Linked DNA regions of Homo sapiens: all the other regions are linked to region 1. Evidence: promoter capture Hi-C in 16 types of primary human blood cells and fetal thymus (Javierre and others, 2016). All regions are on one chromosome and are shown on one strand. The core of a region is centred on a gene start or on the middle of the fragment in contact, and the rest is flanking DNA. Distances in the headings are between cores, read along the strand shown. Region 1 holds the start of TMC3 (transmembrane channel like 3). Region 2 overlaps EFL1 (elongation factor like GTPase 1). Region 3 holds the start of LOC105370923 (a long non-coding RNA gene). Region 4 overlaps LOC105370922 (a long non-coding RNA gene).

What was found. The method cuts DNA at HindIII sites, captures the fragments that hold promoters and counts their contacts. A CHiCAGO score of 5 or more calls a contact.
Region 2: a fragment that was not itself captured here is called in contact with the fragment with the promoter of TMC3 in region 1 in 2 of 17 cell types (fetal thymus and M0 macrophages); the score reaches 7.6 in fetal thymus.
Region 3: a fragment that was not itself captured here is called in contact with the fragment with the promoter of TMC3 in region 1 in 1 of 17 cell types (M2 macrophages); the score reaches 5.4 in M2 macrophages.
Region 4: a fragment that was not itself captured here is called in contact with the fragment with the promoter of TMC3 in region 1 in 1 of 17 cell types (endothelial precursors); the score reaches 5.7 in endothelial precursors.

The regions. Positions count from the first base shown.
Region 1 is chr15:81,371,956-81,376,200 of GRCh38, forward strand. TMC3 (transmembrane channel like 3) reads right to left here and starts at 2,258. Exons shown (of 22, transcript NM_001080532.3): 1 at 2,034-2,258; 2 at 636-782. The coding sequence starts at 2,122. The region is part of intron 5 of TMC3-AS1 (TMC3 antisense RNA 1); the gene reads left to right. The HindIII fragment of the contact is 5,020 bases long and covers 1,800-4,245 here.
Region 2 is chr15:82,184,537-82,188,781 of GRCh38, forward strand. The region is part of intron 15 of EFL1 (elongation factor like GTPase 1); the gene reads right to left. Among named protein-coding and RNA genes, the nearest start is that of EFL1, 76 kb to the right of the region's middle. The HindIII fragment of the contact is 2,009 bases long and covers 1,065-3,073 here.
Region 3 is chr15:82,028,778-82,033,022 of GRCh38, forward strand. It overlaps LOC105370923 (a long non-coding RNA gene), which reads right to left and starts at 3,842. Exons shown (of 3, transcript XR_932531.2): 1 at 1,160-3,842; 2 at 544-656. The HindIII fragment of the contact is 850 bases long and covers 1,828-2,677 here.
Region 4 is chr15:81,986,073-81,990,317 of GRCh38, forward strand. All of the region lies in intron 3 of LOC105370922 (a long non-coding RNA gene), which reads right to left. Among named protein-coding and RNA genes, the nearest start is that of LINC01418, 21 kb to the left of the region's middle. The HindIII fragment of the contact is 3,532 bases long and covers 704-4,235 here.

The DNA.
Region 1 (4,245 bases), core at 1,008-3,507:
GAGAAATTAAGAAAATTAATATCACATAGATAGAAATTGGTAAAGGCAGTATTTGAATCAGGGAATCTATTTTTAAATCTTTAGCACTTTATTATATAGACAGACTATTTAATATGACTCTAAGTATCATAATAATCTGGCTTCCTATAAAGTCTTTTTTTTTTTAATTATTTTTTTACCCAGAGGGTGGTAATATCCAAGCAGCTAAAATGAGTATCTCTTTTCATATTGGCTTACTGCTCTGTTTCTAGTGAGCGAGACGAGCTTGGAGAGAATATTAAAATCTAGTGTTTAGAAAGGAGGTAGAAGATAAAAGACTCTCCACCAACACACACACCCCCAACACAGACACACAACTCTTTATACTCTCTCTTTCTCTGTATCTGTCTCTCTGACACACACACACACACACACACACACACACACACACACACACACACACACACACACACAGAGGAACTGGCTTCTGGACCAGCTAGACCTCTCAGATATCTTTGTGACTTTGCTAATTCAGGTCAAGAGTGACTGAGCCATCTCTCTCACATGAGTCTTTATCCTCGTTCCCATGGGCAAGGCAAGGTGGTTTATCGGAAAGCATGCTTGTAATGATCAATAATGGCCATTGAGGCCCTTACCTCAATGCCCTCAGCTTCTGTCCCATAGTCCAGGGTCTGCAGCGAATGTTTGCCATGAGATCTTTCTGGAACTGTATATTCTGGAAGATTTGTTCCGGATCATTGCTGTCCCCTGTTTCATCAGCACTAAAGCTGTCATCCAAGTTGCTGAATGATCAGGGCATTAAGGAGGAAATCTGATTAGAAGAATTGCTTCCAGCAAAGATCATCTTGCCCTGGGCACAAGTTCAGCATCTCACTGCCCTAGGGTCATCTGTATGAAATGTGTATGTGTTTGTGCGTGTGTGTGTGTGTGTGTGTGTGTGTGTAAAGTGAGGGACCCACAGAAACAGATAATTTGCCAGTGTCAGTAGCCTGTTGAAACACATTTATTGGATTCAATTACTTCCACTGGGTCATTAGAAGATAATGATTTCTCAGGGTGCATGATATTATCAGAAAACACAAGATGAGACAAGAGGGTATTTACGTACTCTTGGATTCCTGAGTAGCAGCAATTTGGGTAGGCAAAATAATTTCTTTTTCAGGCTCATTGAAATAATCAGCTAATTTTAGAGGCAGGACTCCTTATGTTACTTGAAGGTAACATAAATCAAAACTTCTGCCACTCAGAAACCCCTCTTCACCCTTTCACGTCAATTCATTTTAAGCCTGAGATAACCGAGGCAGAGCCAGGCAAAGCAATTTCTACGAGCGAAAGATTAGCTAAGCAAATTTACATGGGTGAGATATTTCAGGAAATAGATACTCTCAAGAGGAACAATTTTCCAACATGTAGCAACATTTACTCCCAGTTACACTTAATATGCTTATCCTAATGCAACATTTTGAGAGGAGTTAAGAGTATTCATCTATGACTATTAGAAATAAAAGATTTCGTTTGTTATTCTCTAATTCATGTTGTTTTTACTCATTTAGAGGAGAATTTTTTTCAATTTCACCAAATTAAATGGCAGCTGTACTAGACCTTTATAAATATTTAACAAATTCGAATAGCACTCTCATCCACTTCTAACTAGCCTGAAGGCTTTTCCAATAAACACTTTATTTATCATGATAGACATATTATCTGCTCTCTCTTGACATTGCTGATTGAGTGAACATAGAGAAAACAGGGAAACATATCTGTGGGTTTGGCCAGCCATAAAGCCAGGTTGGGATGCAAGCTTTTGGATTCTGACCTCCTGGTCAAGAAGCAGCCAGAAGAACCATTTCCCCCCATGCCCGTTGCTGAGGTTGCCATCCTAGTTGTACCACAACCTGGAGAAGTGAGTTTCTGAGTTCATTCTGAAGGACAACTGAGCAGGACAGGGACTTTGTCCCTCGCTCTGGTGACCCATGCATTCCTTCCTCACACACCTGACTCCTCTGCCCAGCTGATGAATGGGGCCAGCTCACCTGAGCAGCAGAGATTCCTGGTAGAGGTAGCACTGGCTGGCATTTCTCCGGATGCCTCTATAGCGCTGGGATGCCTTCGAGGTTTTCATGGGAGCTAACCCACTGCTAACAATCAGAAGCTGGCCAGAGAGCTAGGAAGTTGGCAGGCAAAGGTCTGTTCCGAGGTTTCTGAATGGAAGCAGCGGAGTTTGCTCTGCCCGCTAGTTCTCAGGAAGAAGACTGTGTGCTTGCAGCTGGTGCTCTGAGCAGGGAAGAATCCAGGAGGCCAGTCATGCATATGTAATGTTAAGGTGGCTGAGGCACACAGATTGGCTGGAGTCTAGACAGCCAAGGGTTTGGCCCGGTGATCTACACATCGCTTGGTGCTGTACAAATGATCACATCCGTTAACCCCTTATGCCCTGACAGTCCTGGATGGTTTGCAAAACACTTTACATCTGTGACCATGACTGGTGTTCACAAAACACTGAGGGAGTATAAAAGGCAAGGCTTAATTTCCCCAGTTTTTTACTCTCAACGAAGAGGCTTAGAGACAGTAAGGACCTTGCTTGTGTTCATACAGTGGAGTTGAGGAGAGGCACAGCCATCACATTTTATTTTTTCTTATTTAGTTTTTTCTCAACTTAGTTTCTATTTTGAAAAAAGTCAAATCCTTAGAAATGCTGATGGAACAGTACCAGGAATATCTGTACACTCTTAACCTAGATTTACCAATTGCCACATTTTGCCACAATTGCTTTATTTCTGTCTGTATCCTTCCCCCACCACACACCATTTGAAAGTAGATTGCAGAAATAATGATACATCAACCCCAAGTACTTCAGCATGATATTAATAATAATCAAATTAACATCTTATTACATTTTACCTTTACCATACATGGTCACATTAATGAGCACTATGACTCTGAGACTGAGGCTAAAAGAAATAAAGAGACTTCCTATAGCATTTGGTAAGAAAGGAAGACTTTGATAGAGATTAGACTCTCACCTCAATGTTCTGAAAATAGGTTGCCTGCTGTAAAATGGGATGAGTAGTTCATCCTAGTCCTTCAGCAAAGGTCAGCAGCTTCTCCTCCCCTTCCCCAGCCATCAGCAGAATGGAGCCCGGTTCCTTTGTCACCTGCAGACTCTCACTGTTAGCCATGCATTGGGATTCTGTTCCAAGAACCTCATTCCCAAGTCCAAGACTTGCCTGGTTTCACAGTGTAAACCTCTATTTGCTACTTAACACAAGAAATGGTTTGACTGCAGTGAGGTAAATTGCACCTTTGTAGTAACAGAATGGGAAGGTGCAGGACTGGAGTAGACATGACTCTTTCTATTGAACATTACCCACTGCACACTAAAGACTCAATAAATGGGTGAATAAATAACTGAAGTGGACACCAGACAACGGAGCAGAAAGAAAATCCATCAGCAAGTTCAGATGTGGGGCTTCGGAGAGAAACTTCATTCATTTGTCCATTCAATCCTCCACTAATTCATTAGCAAATAATTGGAAAGATCTTACCACACACTGAACTGGCAAATGTAAGCAAGAGCCCTAGCCCAGGGGTTCAGGACCATCAGGCAAGTGTTCAGACCTAGCGCTGAAAGCATGGGAACGAAGTGGAAGGCTGAGTGCCAGAGCTGGCCTTGGGTCAGAGATGGATCCGGAGCCTCTGGGACCAGGTCATCTGTCTGCCAATTTGCTTGAGGCCATTTGGCCTGATGCTCTATCTGGTAACATTAGATAAAATGTGTGCTTATCAAATGGACAAATGGCTTATACAATAGAATTACTGCTAGCCCCACTGGGATTTTTTGCATTCTTTCAGAGATCTTTACTTATCTCAATCATTCCTGAACATTTCAAAGATTTTTTTCGTCCTACTTTTTCTAAAGCCCCCCTGCCTTATTTTGAAATATTTACTCAAAAATTTAAAATATTTTATATTAATCTCACTCAAGTATTTTGAGTGTTTTTGTTTCCTTTTGATGTTACATATACATGTATATTGTAAGGGGAGGTAAGGAAAGGTAGCAAATTTTGCAGTACACAGGGATTTATTAAAAACAAATTAGAGCAAAATCAATCTTTTTAAAATTTCATATTCATTCAGGTAATTCTCTCTGGCACTATAGGTGAGATAAGTGTCAACCTTAAATAATGAGATTCAGAAAATTAATTCAGAGATTAAGAATAGAGTTTATTTGAACACAGAACTTGA
Region 2 (4,245 bases), core at 819-3,318, 810 kb after region 1:
TCACATTAAAGCAGCACCCACCTGTACCTTCCCAGCAGGACCAACCACAAAAGTAAACTAAAAGCATAGTCTAAAATGAGATGAAGAGCAAACTGCCCAAGTTAGCATAGATATTTGCCCTACTAAATGGTTTTCTCTGGCCTTTCATGTTCATGTTATTTTGGGAATTTTCCCCCCACATTTGGAAAAGAAGTGGAAGCTAAGTAAACTGTAAGGAAGAAGATGAAACTTCCAACTCCCAAATTCCTCACAATTTGACAGATAAGGGATTATTGGATGAAATAGAGTGAAACAATCTACTATATGGTGAAAACATGTGCAATCATAAAAACAAAGAAATGTAGAGTTTCATTATTTGAGGATTTAGAGACAAGAACAACTTAGAGTAGTGTGAATAGTAAGTCCATTGTTTAGCTAATAAATAGGAGACCTTCATTTCCCCAGACTGTGCTAACATGAAGCAAATGTTTTAGTGAAGGAAAAGGAAAGAAATCTATTTTTATATCCCCTGCTACAATGGATTTTGTCTGTTAGAGACAAAGTTAAGTTTTGACTATTTACAAATGAACTCACACATACATATTACCCCAACTCAGAAGACATACAAATCCTTAGGAATGTTTCATGTGTGGCTGTGTGTGTGTGTGTGTGTGTGTGTGTGTGTGTGTGTGTGTGTGTGCGTTCCTCAATTCACGGAGTGAAAACACTGGGTCACCTACTTTCAAAACTAACAAATTAAAGTTAAAATTGTATCTCTACTCCATACCATAAACCAAGATAAAAATCTAGATGGATTAAAAAGTGACACATATGTGTGACTATTAAATAAAATTAAAATGCATATCTTCATAAATGAAAAAGTAAAAAAGAAAAAAGCCAAAAACCCAAAAACAAAAAATCCAACTTGTAAATACTTTAAAGACATTCAGAAAAAAATTTTAAAAAATTAGAACTTTTCCCATAAATTTTTACTTTTATGGCAAAAAATCAAATAAACAAAGTTAAAAAGCAAGTCAAAAATGGAAGAGAATTATCAGAACACAGATGAATAGCTTCCTATAAAAAGCTTTTACCAATAAATCAGAAAATGAATACCACAATTTAAAAACACAGCCAAAGAATACAGACAATTAAAAAAAATACAAGTGGCCAACTTACATATAAGGTAGTGTTCAACCTCTTTAATAGTAAAAGCAAATTTAAACTAAAACTCGATACCTTTAGTTACTGACATATTCAGGACTCTACTGTTGAAACAGTTTTGTAACATTTTTTCCCTAGAAAATCAAGGGGCGTATTTGCATATGGAAATTAATTAGCCTTGAAAAGTATACAGTATTTTCTTAAAATTTAAAATCTCTATGTTTATTACTTCATTCCCACTCATTCCTAACTTGCTTGTTTTCCCCTTTCCTCAGTGAGACATTTAACTATTGTACTCATCTTTTTAAATACATCTGCTATTTACTTATCAATTCTAGGGAATTTTGTTGTATAAAATTTAATTTTTGCTTTTTTCTTTACTAGTATCTTCTTTTTTTTTGTAAGGGGGGACTTGTCATTCTTTCTCTGATTACCTCAGTGGAATGAATAGTTGCTTGTTTTTTTCTTACCAAATAATAAAAGCAAAGGCTAGCTTTTTATACTCAGAGTTTTGGAATCACATCTAAAGGCTTTGATATGTTGAATTCTGACTTTTGTCAGTGTTTAAATCCATATAGGCACGCTCCTTTCCATCTTTAATTAATATCTATAATATGCAAGGGGTAAGGTCAAAAAGCAATAAGGGGGAAAGGCCATTAACATAACACAAAAATCTTCTAGCCTAAAGTACTATATTGTCTGGCTCTTTAGTAAAGCCCAACCTAAAAAGCACATCTCTTAACCATAGAAAACGGCAAAAGAATGGATGCTCTGGCAGTTAAACACTCTCTCACAAACTGAATCATTTCCAAATACCAGGTGTTCCAGTTTCACTGTGTTTTGATATTGTCAGAAAGGCTAGCCACTTTTTTTTGCTCCATTTAAGCATTCATTGCCTTTATTTTTAACATAATTAACTCGATTATAAATTTATGTGATTTAATCTTTAATAATGGCCAAGTTTAACAACTGGTTAACAAATTTCCTGAAAATTTAGCAATCTGCTCTTATGAGCCGACAGTTTTCCTTTTCCATTTCCAGACCTGAGTGTTCTATTCCACCCTTTTGGAGGTTCTAGTCCCACATGACTCAGTGTTGGTCTTGTTCCTGTATCTGTTTCTAGTCTAGAACCTTCACAGTACTTGAGTCCTCTTTGATGATCGAGGCTTGTTTTGCTCTAAATTGCAGGTCCCCTGGAACTGACATCTCAGCGCCTCAATAATTCAGGCGCTTCTTAGGTAGCCTTTTGAGCACTCCCTCACTGGAACCTCAGCCTGTAGTGATTTTAGACTAATTTCTAGAGGTATGTTGTTTGTCATTTCCTTGAACTCTGAGTAGACATTACCATGCCCTTTGGATATTTTGTTATACCTTCTTACAGAAGCTATTTTTATCCATTTTAAAGAGTAATTGAAAAAATGTTCTTTATTATACATCATCTTACAAAGGAAGTTTGCAGGGGATGATAAGCACTAGTGCTACTGTAGTGCTTTCCTACAGAGGCGGCACTTGTCAATGAGCAAAGAGGCCAACATTGTGACATATGCCTGGAGCTTCAGTTTCACTTCTTTCTAATAGCGAAAACAAATATTGTAAAATAGGCGTAATTTATCCTTAAGCTGTTTGGTTAAAGTGAAATGCAAATGTTTTAAACCAAAGGATTGCTCTACTCTGTAACTGCAAATTTAATTTCTACTTTGCTCTAAGAGTGACTTAGGAGATTGTATTTTAATATCTAGCTGATTAGAATTATTTTGAACAATTTTTTATTATTAACTTTGAGTTTTAGTTTATTTTGGTCAGAAAATAATAGCTTGTGCACATTATATTTTGGAGATTTTATTAAAACTTTTCTTGTGACCTAGTAAATTCAATTTTTAAATTTAATTTCTACTTAGAGTACAAAATTTTATATCTACCTATTAAACGAAGCTTATTGTTTGTATTATTTAAATATTCTATTTCCATATTTATCCTCTACCTAATTTACATGTCAAATTCTGGAAGGCATGTCCAAGTCTTCTAATACAATTTCTATTCTGTAAATTCTAATTTTTATTTTAATGTTTTGCTTTATATGCACAGTATCTAAAATGTCTAGAGGAGGGAATATTTGTTAAATTTTTATATTTTACTCTTTTTTACCTACTTAATCTACTTTGACTTAATCTCAGTCATATTATTCTATCATTATTCTTTGGAGCAATATACACTGAGATTTTGTCCTATATTTCACGGTAATAACTATAACAGTGAAAAAAACAGCCCTGTGTTTCCAGACTTTTAGGATACTCTGTATTTCAGTGCTACCTTACTTGGGACATAAAGACTTATGACCATTATAATTTTAGTTCCAATTGAATTTTTCTTTAATAAAATATAACTCTTTGTCCTGTTGAATGCTTTTCCTCTTGAAATTTCCTCTACCTAACACTAAATTTGTATCTTTATCTTTACAAAATTGTTTACTTTAAACAATTGTTGTCTTTATCTTTTATTTTCAAACTTTGAACTGCTTTATTTCACATGGTTCCTGCAAACAGCATGATTCTCTTGAGTTTTTTGGAGTGCCCAATATAAGCGTCATTGTCTTTTAATTAAGTTGTTAAGTTCCTTCACATTTACTGTGGTAATATATTTGGTCTTGGGTCTAGCCTACTTCCATTTTCTTATCTTTTTTCCTCTTAGTTTTTTTGTTATGTTTTGTTTTACCAAATGAAGTTTTCTTCATTCCTTTCTAGAAATCTTCACTTAATTGGAAATTACATATCTTATTTCTCTCTCTGACTAGTGAGTGCCTTAAAGAAAATCTAAATCTATCTGTCTCTACCTGTATCAAGAACAATGTTATAACCGTTGCTTCCTCGTGGGGAAAAGTTAAAAATTCAATGTGTTTTAAGTTAACTTTTCTTTTACCTTACAACCCTACTCTATCTACTTTCCAGGTCTTGTTAAAACAAAGATTCTACATTCAGATTTTTTAAAACAATGTGCCTCTTCCCTTTCAACAATTATTTTTAAAAAGACCTAAGCTTGAGAAACTATATAAACACTTAGTTGGCTTAACCTGTTCACATTAATAGTTTTGTTGTTCTCTATTCT
Region 3 (4,245 bases), core at 1,003-3,502, 660 kb after region 1:
ATGGGCACATAAATGGAGAGATGGAAGCTATGCATAGGCCCAACAGCATGCATTCCCACTGACTGTGACCAGTGTAGCCACTGTCACCTCTGAATGTCCAGTCTACTAGCAACAGAGGTCAAAGCTAAGCCTTGGAAATGGCACTGTTCCTGGAGGAGACCACAGGGCCACAGAGTGACAAGTCTGCCTGTATTGGGCCCCTCCATCTTGTAAGAGACAGCTGTCCAACCTCTCTCTAGGTTTCAGGTCTCATTCCCTTCCCTAGACTGGCCCTTGCCCCACTCACAGATCCTATTAAACTACCTGGCTGGTGACTTCAGCCTTGACCCTTACTTTGGCAAATTCCCAGCCCTTCCAGTCTTAGCTTCGGAAGTATTACTGCTACTTATCCAATATTTATCCCTCTTTACCTTTTATCTTTACAGAAATAACACAGACTTTGTTCAGGATGACATTGCTTAACTATAAATGTTTGATTTTCCAACCATATGAACAGTTCTGGCCAATGAGAGATAGTCTCTGAATGAAAAGGCAGAAGCTCACCAGCAAAGTGCCTCTTTACTGGCCATCCTTGTCATTTCACTAAACTTTTCCCTCCTTCTTCATGCTTGGACTATAGACAAGAGGTCTGGGGTTGTGGCAGCCATCCTTTGACCCTGAGGCATTTAACAAATGACAGAGCAGAAAGATGTAAAGAGCTGTGGATCCTGGTTGTGTCTCTGAGAAACCAGACCAGCCCTGATCTGCTTACTTTGGGGCTGCCTGTGTGTAAGGCCAGTCAAACCCTGCTTCAGCCACTATAGGAGGTTTTCATTCATTTGATCTCTTCTATGGAGTGGAATTGCTTCGAATCTGGCTGGCACTTGGCCCTAAATAGTATTAATAGATACTGAGCTATTGAAATGAAACTTTTATGACAATAACACATTGATGTATGTGCTCCTGCAAAGGGATTTGAAATACTACTAATAATAAATGAATCTTAAACTGAAAAAAGATATGCTGGAGTCATAAACCCCAGTATCTCAGAATGCGATCTTATTTGAAGATAGGATCTTTTTACAAAGATAGTCCAGTTAAAATGAGGTCATGAGGGGTGGGTCCTAATTCGATAGGACTGATGTCCTTATAAGAAGTGGAAATCTGGGGATATACATACACAAAGAAGACAAAGTGAAGGCGGGAGAAGGCAGCCACATACAAGTCAGAGAGGCCTGGAACAGATCCTTCCCGCACAGCCCTCAGAGGAAACCAGCCCTGCTGACACCTTGATCTCAGACTTCTTGCCTCTAGAACTGAGAGACGATAAATTTCTGTTGTTTAAGCCACTCAGTTTGTGGTACTTGGCCCCCCTACCAAATGAATACAGGAGGGTGTTCTGTTCTTTGAAACTGGATATATCTCTGTATGATACAGCTAGGCAGTCTCCCAGCTCTGCCACCAATCCCACACCCACCCTAAATGTGACTTCAACAATCATCAGATATAATTCAACATTTGGAAAAATCTCAGTGACTAGACAACTGTCCAGTGGACTTGTAAGGACAGCCAGTAAATCTAAGCTTAATGAGCCATTAAGAACACTGAATAGCTGGAGAGATTCTCTGCACTTTGCCTCAGAGTTCTTAGCAAGGGGCAGGGGTTGAGTTCCTCCCTCTCGCACAGGGAGCCCATGCCTTCCTTAATTGCTTCAACTTGTGTACAGACTGCCTGTGGCCATAGAGTCCTAGCTAGGTCTTGACGCAGTAAGATAGCACCACACAATGATGTGGTTTTGCTTTTGTACTGTCCTGTGCTCTAAATCCTGCCTACTTTGCTGTTGTGAGAAGCTTCTGAGTTTAATTGATTCATTTTGGAGATTGGTCTGCATGCAAAAGTTTCAATGTTCTGATCATTAAGGAAGGATTAATTGAGTTGCCCTGGAAGGGACTTCATTGGACTAGTTTCCAAATTTAATATATGGCCTAGTTCCACCAAGAACCTGGATTATTCACTCTCTTATAGTGAGCTACTTGGCAGCCCCAACCTTACTAAGCAGAGGGCAAGATATTTAGGCAGTAAATTCAAAATTCCACTCCTTCCACCATTTACTCAGTCCCAAACTTCTCATAAATTTTCAAGTGAAATTCAAGAAAGTTTTTCTTCCTAAATGGGAAATATAGATTGGAGGTTTTCATTCATTTTGATTTCTTCTTTGGAGTGGAATTCCTAGAATCTGACTGGCACTTGGCCCTAAATGGTATTAATAGATACTGAGCTATGGAGATGAAACTTTTATGACAATAACATATTGATGTATGTGCTCATACAAAGGGATTTAAAATACTACTACTAATAAATGGATCTTAAAAGCATCCTAACAACTGTTGGTCTTTGATACTTACTTAATGCTGGCTGGATCCAGTGCAAGATACACTGCTAAGAAAATCCTAATAGTTATTTTTAAAATAATAATACATTTATTTATTCATTCTTACATGTCATTTAAATACGATTAGCAATCCTTTTTTATTCTCAGAGAAAACTCTTAGTGAGTCTGAGGATCAGATATGTCCCCAATATGTGTTCATACTGCTTAGCGTGGAATTGCATATGTTCTTTGCAGGTTTTGGCTGTGTGCAAATCGTGTGAGCGCTTTTTACAATAGAGAAAGCATTTTGGACAGATATTGAAATGAAGCTTCTCCATCATGCAGCTTTTAGAGTATTTGTCTCATGTGTTTTAACCCCTGTTCCCAATATCTTGTATTTCAGTGCTCACAGCTGAAGCACATGTCCTATTTTATGCCCTTCCTCATAACTACTGCTGATTATTTTGCATCTTGCACATCTAAATGTTCAGTTTTTCTTCCTAATTCCAATGATTCTCCTCATTTCTCAATGTCCTTTGTCCATCTTTGCTGCTCCATTTGCACTGCCTCCCAAAGGTCACTGTGGCTCCTTCTCTGACTTCCACAGTCAAGTTACACTTCATAAAAATTCTAAGCTCATTTTCAGAAGCCACAAATCTATCCTTCTTTAAAGTCTTCAAACTTTGATTGTGTAAATAAATACTCAGAAACAAGATTTCTAAAAAAAAAAACACTATTGGCCATCGTATGTTCAAAGGAGATAACAAATGTTTAACCTTATATGTTGTAGGCTTTCTAAACTTAATTTCAAAAAAAGACTAAATAAACAGTGTCAATATGTCTATAAACTCACAACGAAAATTTTCAGATCATCCAATTGTGTATTCATTGGCCGGAAACAATCATGTAAAAACCACAGCCCTGGAGCTGGGTAGCATAGAAACAAGAAGATTCAGCATTTCATGGTTGGTGACCTCAAATCTCTAAAGGGTTGTCAGGTTAAAAAAAAAAAAAAGAAAAGAAAAGAATAGAAATTTGACCTGATCTATAAAAATGAAAGTCGCTGGGCAAAGTTTTGGCTTTTCACTCCTGACAAAGATGAGCTCTCTCATAGGTAGACCAAGGCACACGAGTGATGACTTTCGTGGCCCCAAAATTCTTCAAGAAAATAGTAGATTGAGGAAGCGATCTGCGCATTGATAGAGGTGCTGTTTGAACTGGATGACATTTAAGCTTCCTTCTTTCTCCAAGATTCTGTGAGGCCATGAAGCATGCTATTTCATCCCCACTCCAATTGCTGTCTCCCTGGCCTGGTGCCCTTACCACCTCAATCTTGGGTCACTGATCTCTTTTGCAAGAAATCAGTCCTGCCTACCACCTGCAACTTCATCTTCCTAAAATGTCACTTTCCTTAAGGCCTGCTCTGTTCAAAGGCCAGTTCCCAGCCACACCAATGTAAATGCTTGTATTTATCGTTGATAAGCTCTTCCCACCCCATGAGATCATGAACTCTGCTCCAGGTAGACTGGCTTTTTTTGCTGTGTCCCCCACCCCGCCGCCCCCACATCTCACTAGTCCTCCACAGGGATCTTTACTTTTTTTTTAAATCAACACATTTCCTAGGCAGAGGAAATGTTTCAAGCAAAGGCACAAATATATAAAAACACTAGATGTATTCAGGAAATCGTAAGTAAAAGCATTTGCTCTATGACTCCCAGCTAGGTCTAACACTACATTTAGTTATCGCTTCTAACATCCTCATTCTTCTATTTTTAATAATAGTGCCCAACCCACCAAGGTTCTAAATCCGCAAATCTCCTTGTCCGTCTTCGCTCCCAGATATGGCCCCTGCCACCTAACATTGTCAATTTAATTGGGTTGAACCGTATGAAATT
Region 4 (4,245 bases), core at 1,220-3,719, 610 kb after region 1:
TCTGGGTTTAAGCAAACTGCAGACCTTATGGCTCACAATGTAGACATCTGAAAATGAGAACCTGAAAATGCAAAGCCATTTTAACACATTATTTAGTAAGTTAGTTTTCAGAAACTAAGATGTACACCTCCTTAGCAGTCAGTAAACATATTTTTTCCTTATGAAACCAGGCTATAAATGGCTAGTGTGGATAAAATGAAAGCATTTGGTGAAGTCTGTCTCTCTTGGGATTTCTGCTTAACTGAGGAATACATTATATTCAGATATTTCCTCAGACATAAATACCATCTTGATTAAGACATAAAGTTCCCTGGTTACACATCATGGAAATGGACTTTGGACTCAGACCATCACCAGTGATGGCCGATGTGTTTAGGGTAAAGCTTTGTTTGCAGAAAGAGCCATAACTTGAGCATAAATTATGCGTTGGAGTCACCACTCCAATTTGCCTATTTTTTGTTAGAAACTTTATGTGAAATTTGAGGTTGAGGGATAGGGGTTAGAATTGGCATCTTAGGCTGGTTTCCCGCAGTGCACCCACAACAAGGCTGCTGTGGACAAAGGCCTCAGAATCTGGCTTCCCGGAGTGTGGGTGGAGCTGAGCTACAAGTGCATGCCCAGTACCAAGTGGGGTCCACCAAGCTTCCATAACTAGAACCCTATGTAGACAAACCCCTCAGCTTCCAGAGACTAAATGCTAGAAAGCTTAAGCATTCCATGAAATGAAACCAGCAACCATAGCTTGGAAAGTAATACAGGCAAAAGCTCAAGAATAGAGATCATAATGTGTCCTAATGGGTCAACTCATAGCTCCAGCTCTTGGATTCTGTGGAACAGGATAGATTTCCAAGAGCTGGAAGGCACTGCTGAAAGGTAAAGATAGAGAAGGAATGGGAATGACCTGGAAAACGGAGAACCCAAGAGGGCTTGGATCCAGAAAAGGATTGCCCAGTAATCCAGGCCTTCCCAAGGAGATAGTTTGCTTCTCTCCTTTTCCAGAGTCCTTCATGACCAGAAGCTCTCCTGTTAGCTACCATGCCTTGCTCCTGTTTCTTATCATTGTCTGTGTCTCAGCACAACCATTGTTGGGTTTTTTTTTTTTTTTTTTTTTTGAGACGGAGTCTCGCTCTGTCACCCAGGCTGGAGTGCAGTGGCGCAATCTTGGCTCAGTGCAACCTCCGCCTCCCAGTATCAAGTGATTCTCCTGCCTCAGCCTCCCGAGTAGCTGGGATTACAGGCGCCCACGACCATACCCGGCTAATTTTTGTATTTTTTAGTAGAGACTGGGTTTCACCATGTTGGCCAGGCTGGTCTCGAACTCCTGATCTTGTGATCTGCCCTCTTCGGCCTCCCAAAGTGCTGGGATTACAGGCGTGAGCCACTACGCCCAGCCCACTGTTGGCTTTTGACTACCACGAATTCTGGCTAGGGAGTTTCTGAAGGTGTCAGAGGTTGTCACAGATCAGGCTTCCCTCCTTCTGATCATAGAGTGATGGTTCCACCATTCTCCCAGCTCATGACCTAGAACTCAATTCCAGAGTTTCCAACTCCTTCTCCAAATATAATTACCCGTAAAACTTTGAAACTCTCCTCATTGTCCTTCATACCCACAAGACATACCACTTCCTGTGCTCCCAACCTTTCTTGAAAATACTGCTTATCACACTAGACTCTGAGACTTGTGAGATCAAGCCCATGTCTAATTCATCTTTCTAATTCTGGCTCCTGGTACAGTGCCTGACTCATGGTTGACTTAGGGATGTTTGGTTGAAGAAGTATGATCCGGCCAACTTTTCTGTTACATGTGTTTCCTCCCTTGCTTTATATTCCTGCCAACACCTTCATCATCTTTCAGCTAGACACTCAATAATATAATGATTAACGTTCAGATAGAGAATGCTGTGAAGGAAATAATGTATAATAAGAAGACCGAAGCAAGAGGTGGAAGGGAGGTACCATTTTAGATGAAATAGTCAAAGATGTCTCTGAGGAGATGACATGTGAGCAGAGATACAAACAATGAAAAGAAGAGAGGCATGTGGTCATCTGGCTGGGGAGGCATTCCAGAGGGAAACAAGAGGAAAGTTAAGGTCCCTGAGGTAAGGATGAGTATGTCCTGTTTCAGAAAGAGCAGGAAGGCCAGCCTGGCTACAGTATGGTAAACTGGAGGAAGAGGAACAGATAAGGCTAAAAAAGTCGGCAGGGTCTAGATCCTGTCTTTGTAGGTATGTCAGGAAATTTGGATCTTAAGTGTAATGAGAAGCCATGGCATGTTTTAATTAGGGAAATTAGGTCATCTTAAGTTACTTACTTCAAAAAGTTACTCTAGATGCTGTCTGCAGAATGGATTAAAGGGGACAAGAATGGAGAAATACCTGTTAGGGAGTGTATGCAGAAATTTAGGAGAGGTGATTATGGATTGTTCTTGGGAAGAAAGAGTGGAAAGAGAAGTGGTTGGCTAAAAACTAAATTTCAAAAGAAATTTATTAAAAAAAAAATAAATTTTCCAAGACCAAAAAATGTGTTAGTAGATTGGATATGGGGGATGAGGAAACCAGAAGAACCAGGGAGGACTCCCATGCCTTAGGTCTTGGGTAAAAGGTGGGGCCATTAGGCCATTACCTGAGATGGAGAAGACTAGGGGAGGGGCATTCTTTACAAGGTGAATGGGGTAAGAAGCCAATGGAAGGAAAATCTATTTAGGATAAAGTGAAAGTGTCATGTGGGCAATTAGATAGCATGCATCTGGAGCTTAGAGAATAGCTTGGAGAAGTCCTCAGAATGTAAATTTTTGAGCCGATAGTGTATAGAAGGTATTGAAATCCATAGAGCTAGAAGAGTTCAATGCAACATGTTTTACAGTCATGATCTATTCTTTGGCCATGAGCCACTCAGGCCATAGTGCATTAATGGGATTATTTTTACACCTTAGAACAGTTTGTCTTTTACACCTACCTCATAATCCTTTTAAAAAATTATTAAACTTTAAGGAACACTTGGAGAAAATGGGATAAAAGCAAGAGGAGCAAGAACCTCAGGAATTCATATGGCCTTTATTGAGGCAACACCAGAATGCACTGTCTACTGCAAAAAGAAGCAAGCAAAGTTGTAGAAATTCTCTAACAGGTGTGGCTCAGGCCAAATTGTCTTGGCAGGAGCAACAACAGCAATGACCCAGGAAACAATGCCAGTAATTCAGAGCCAGGGACAAGCCAAGCAGATGCTCTAGAACCTCTGCGTCTACCAATCTCTTAGTCTAGGAATATCCAGTTTCCCTAGACCTTCTCCATCCAGACCCTTGGGAATTTTCAGCAGCAGAATTTATTCTCTTCAATCACAGCCAGGCCTGGGATGCCCCAGTTCAAGCATTCCACCAGGGGTTCTGGCACCCATGGACTTCATTTTAGAGTCTGAATGTTTCCTTGAGTCCAAAGTGCACCCTTTACTGCAGACCCCTTTAGTGACCCCCATATCTCTCCCTACTGTTTCCTGCCATAATACTTTGGCCCCAAGGTGGGACTGACTCTCTGGATGAGAAACATCAGAGCATGGAGACATTTCTGAATTTACAGAAGAGTCAGTCCTCTGAAATGTCCTGTGGATACCTTAGGGAAATCACAAAAAACACTATGACAACAGAATATGTTTCTGAGACTCATTCATGTTGTTGGCAAAAGCTATAATTCATTCATATTTATCTCTGTAGAAATAAAATTCTACAGCCAGAAACAGAGAGAAATTCTGTTCTTAATCTTTAAAGTCCATCAGAATTATCTGAAAGGCTTCTTAAAATGTAAGTTCTGAGTTCTGAGCCCCACTCTTATAGTTCTTATTCACTGGGTCCAAAGTGAGATTCAAGAACTTGCATTTCTAACAAGTTCCCAGGTGATGCTGATGTTTCTGGTCCATGGTCCATGCTTTAAGAACAACTTTTATAAAGTGTTTCATTATGTGACAATACAACAACTTATTCATTTTATTATGATGGACACCTTCGCTGTTTTCAATTGGGGGCTATTATAGTGTTTCCATGAATATCCTTGTATATGTCCTTTGGTTCACACATGTAACACATTTCTGTTGGGTCCTCAAGAATTGCTGGGTCGTATATGTTCAACTTTGATAGATACTACCAATGGGTTTTCCAAAATCGTTTAATTCATTTTCATTCCCACAGGCAATAAATATTTGAAAGTTTCTGAAACTCAGGATTCCTACCAACATTAGGCTTGTGAAGCTTTTACA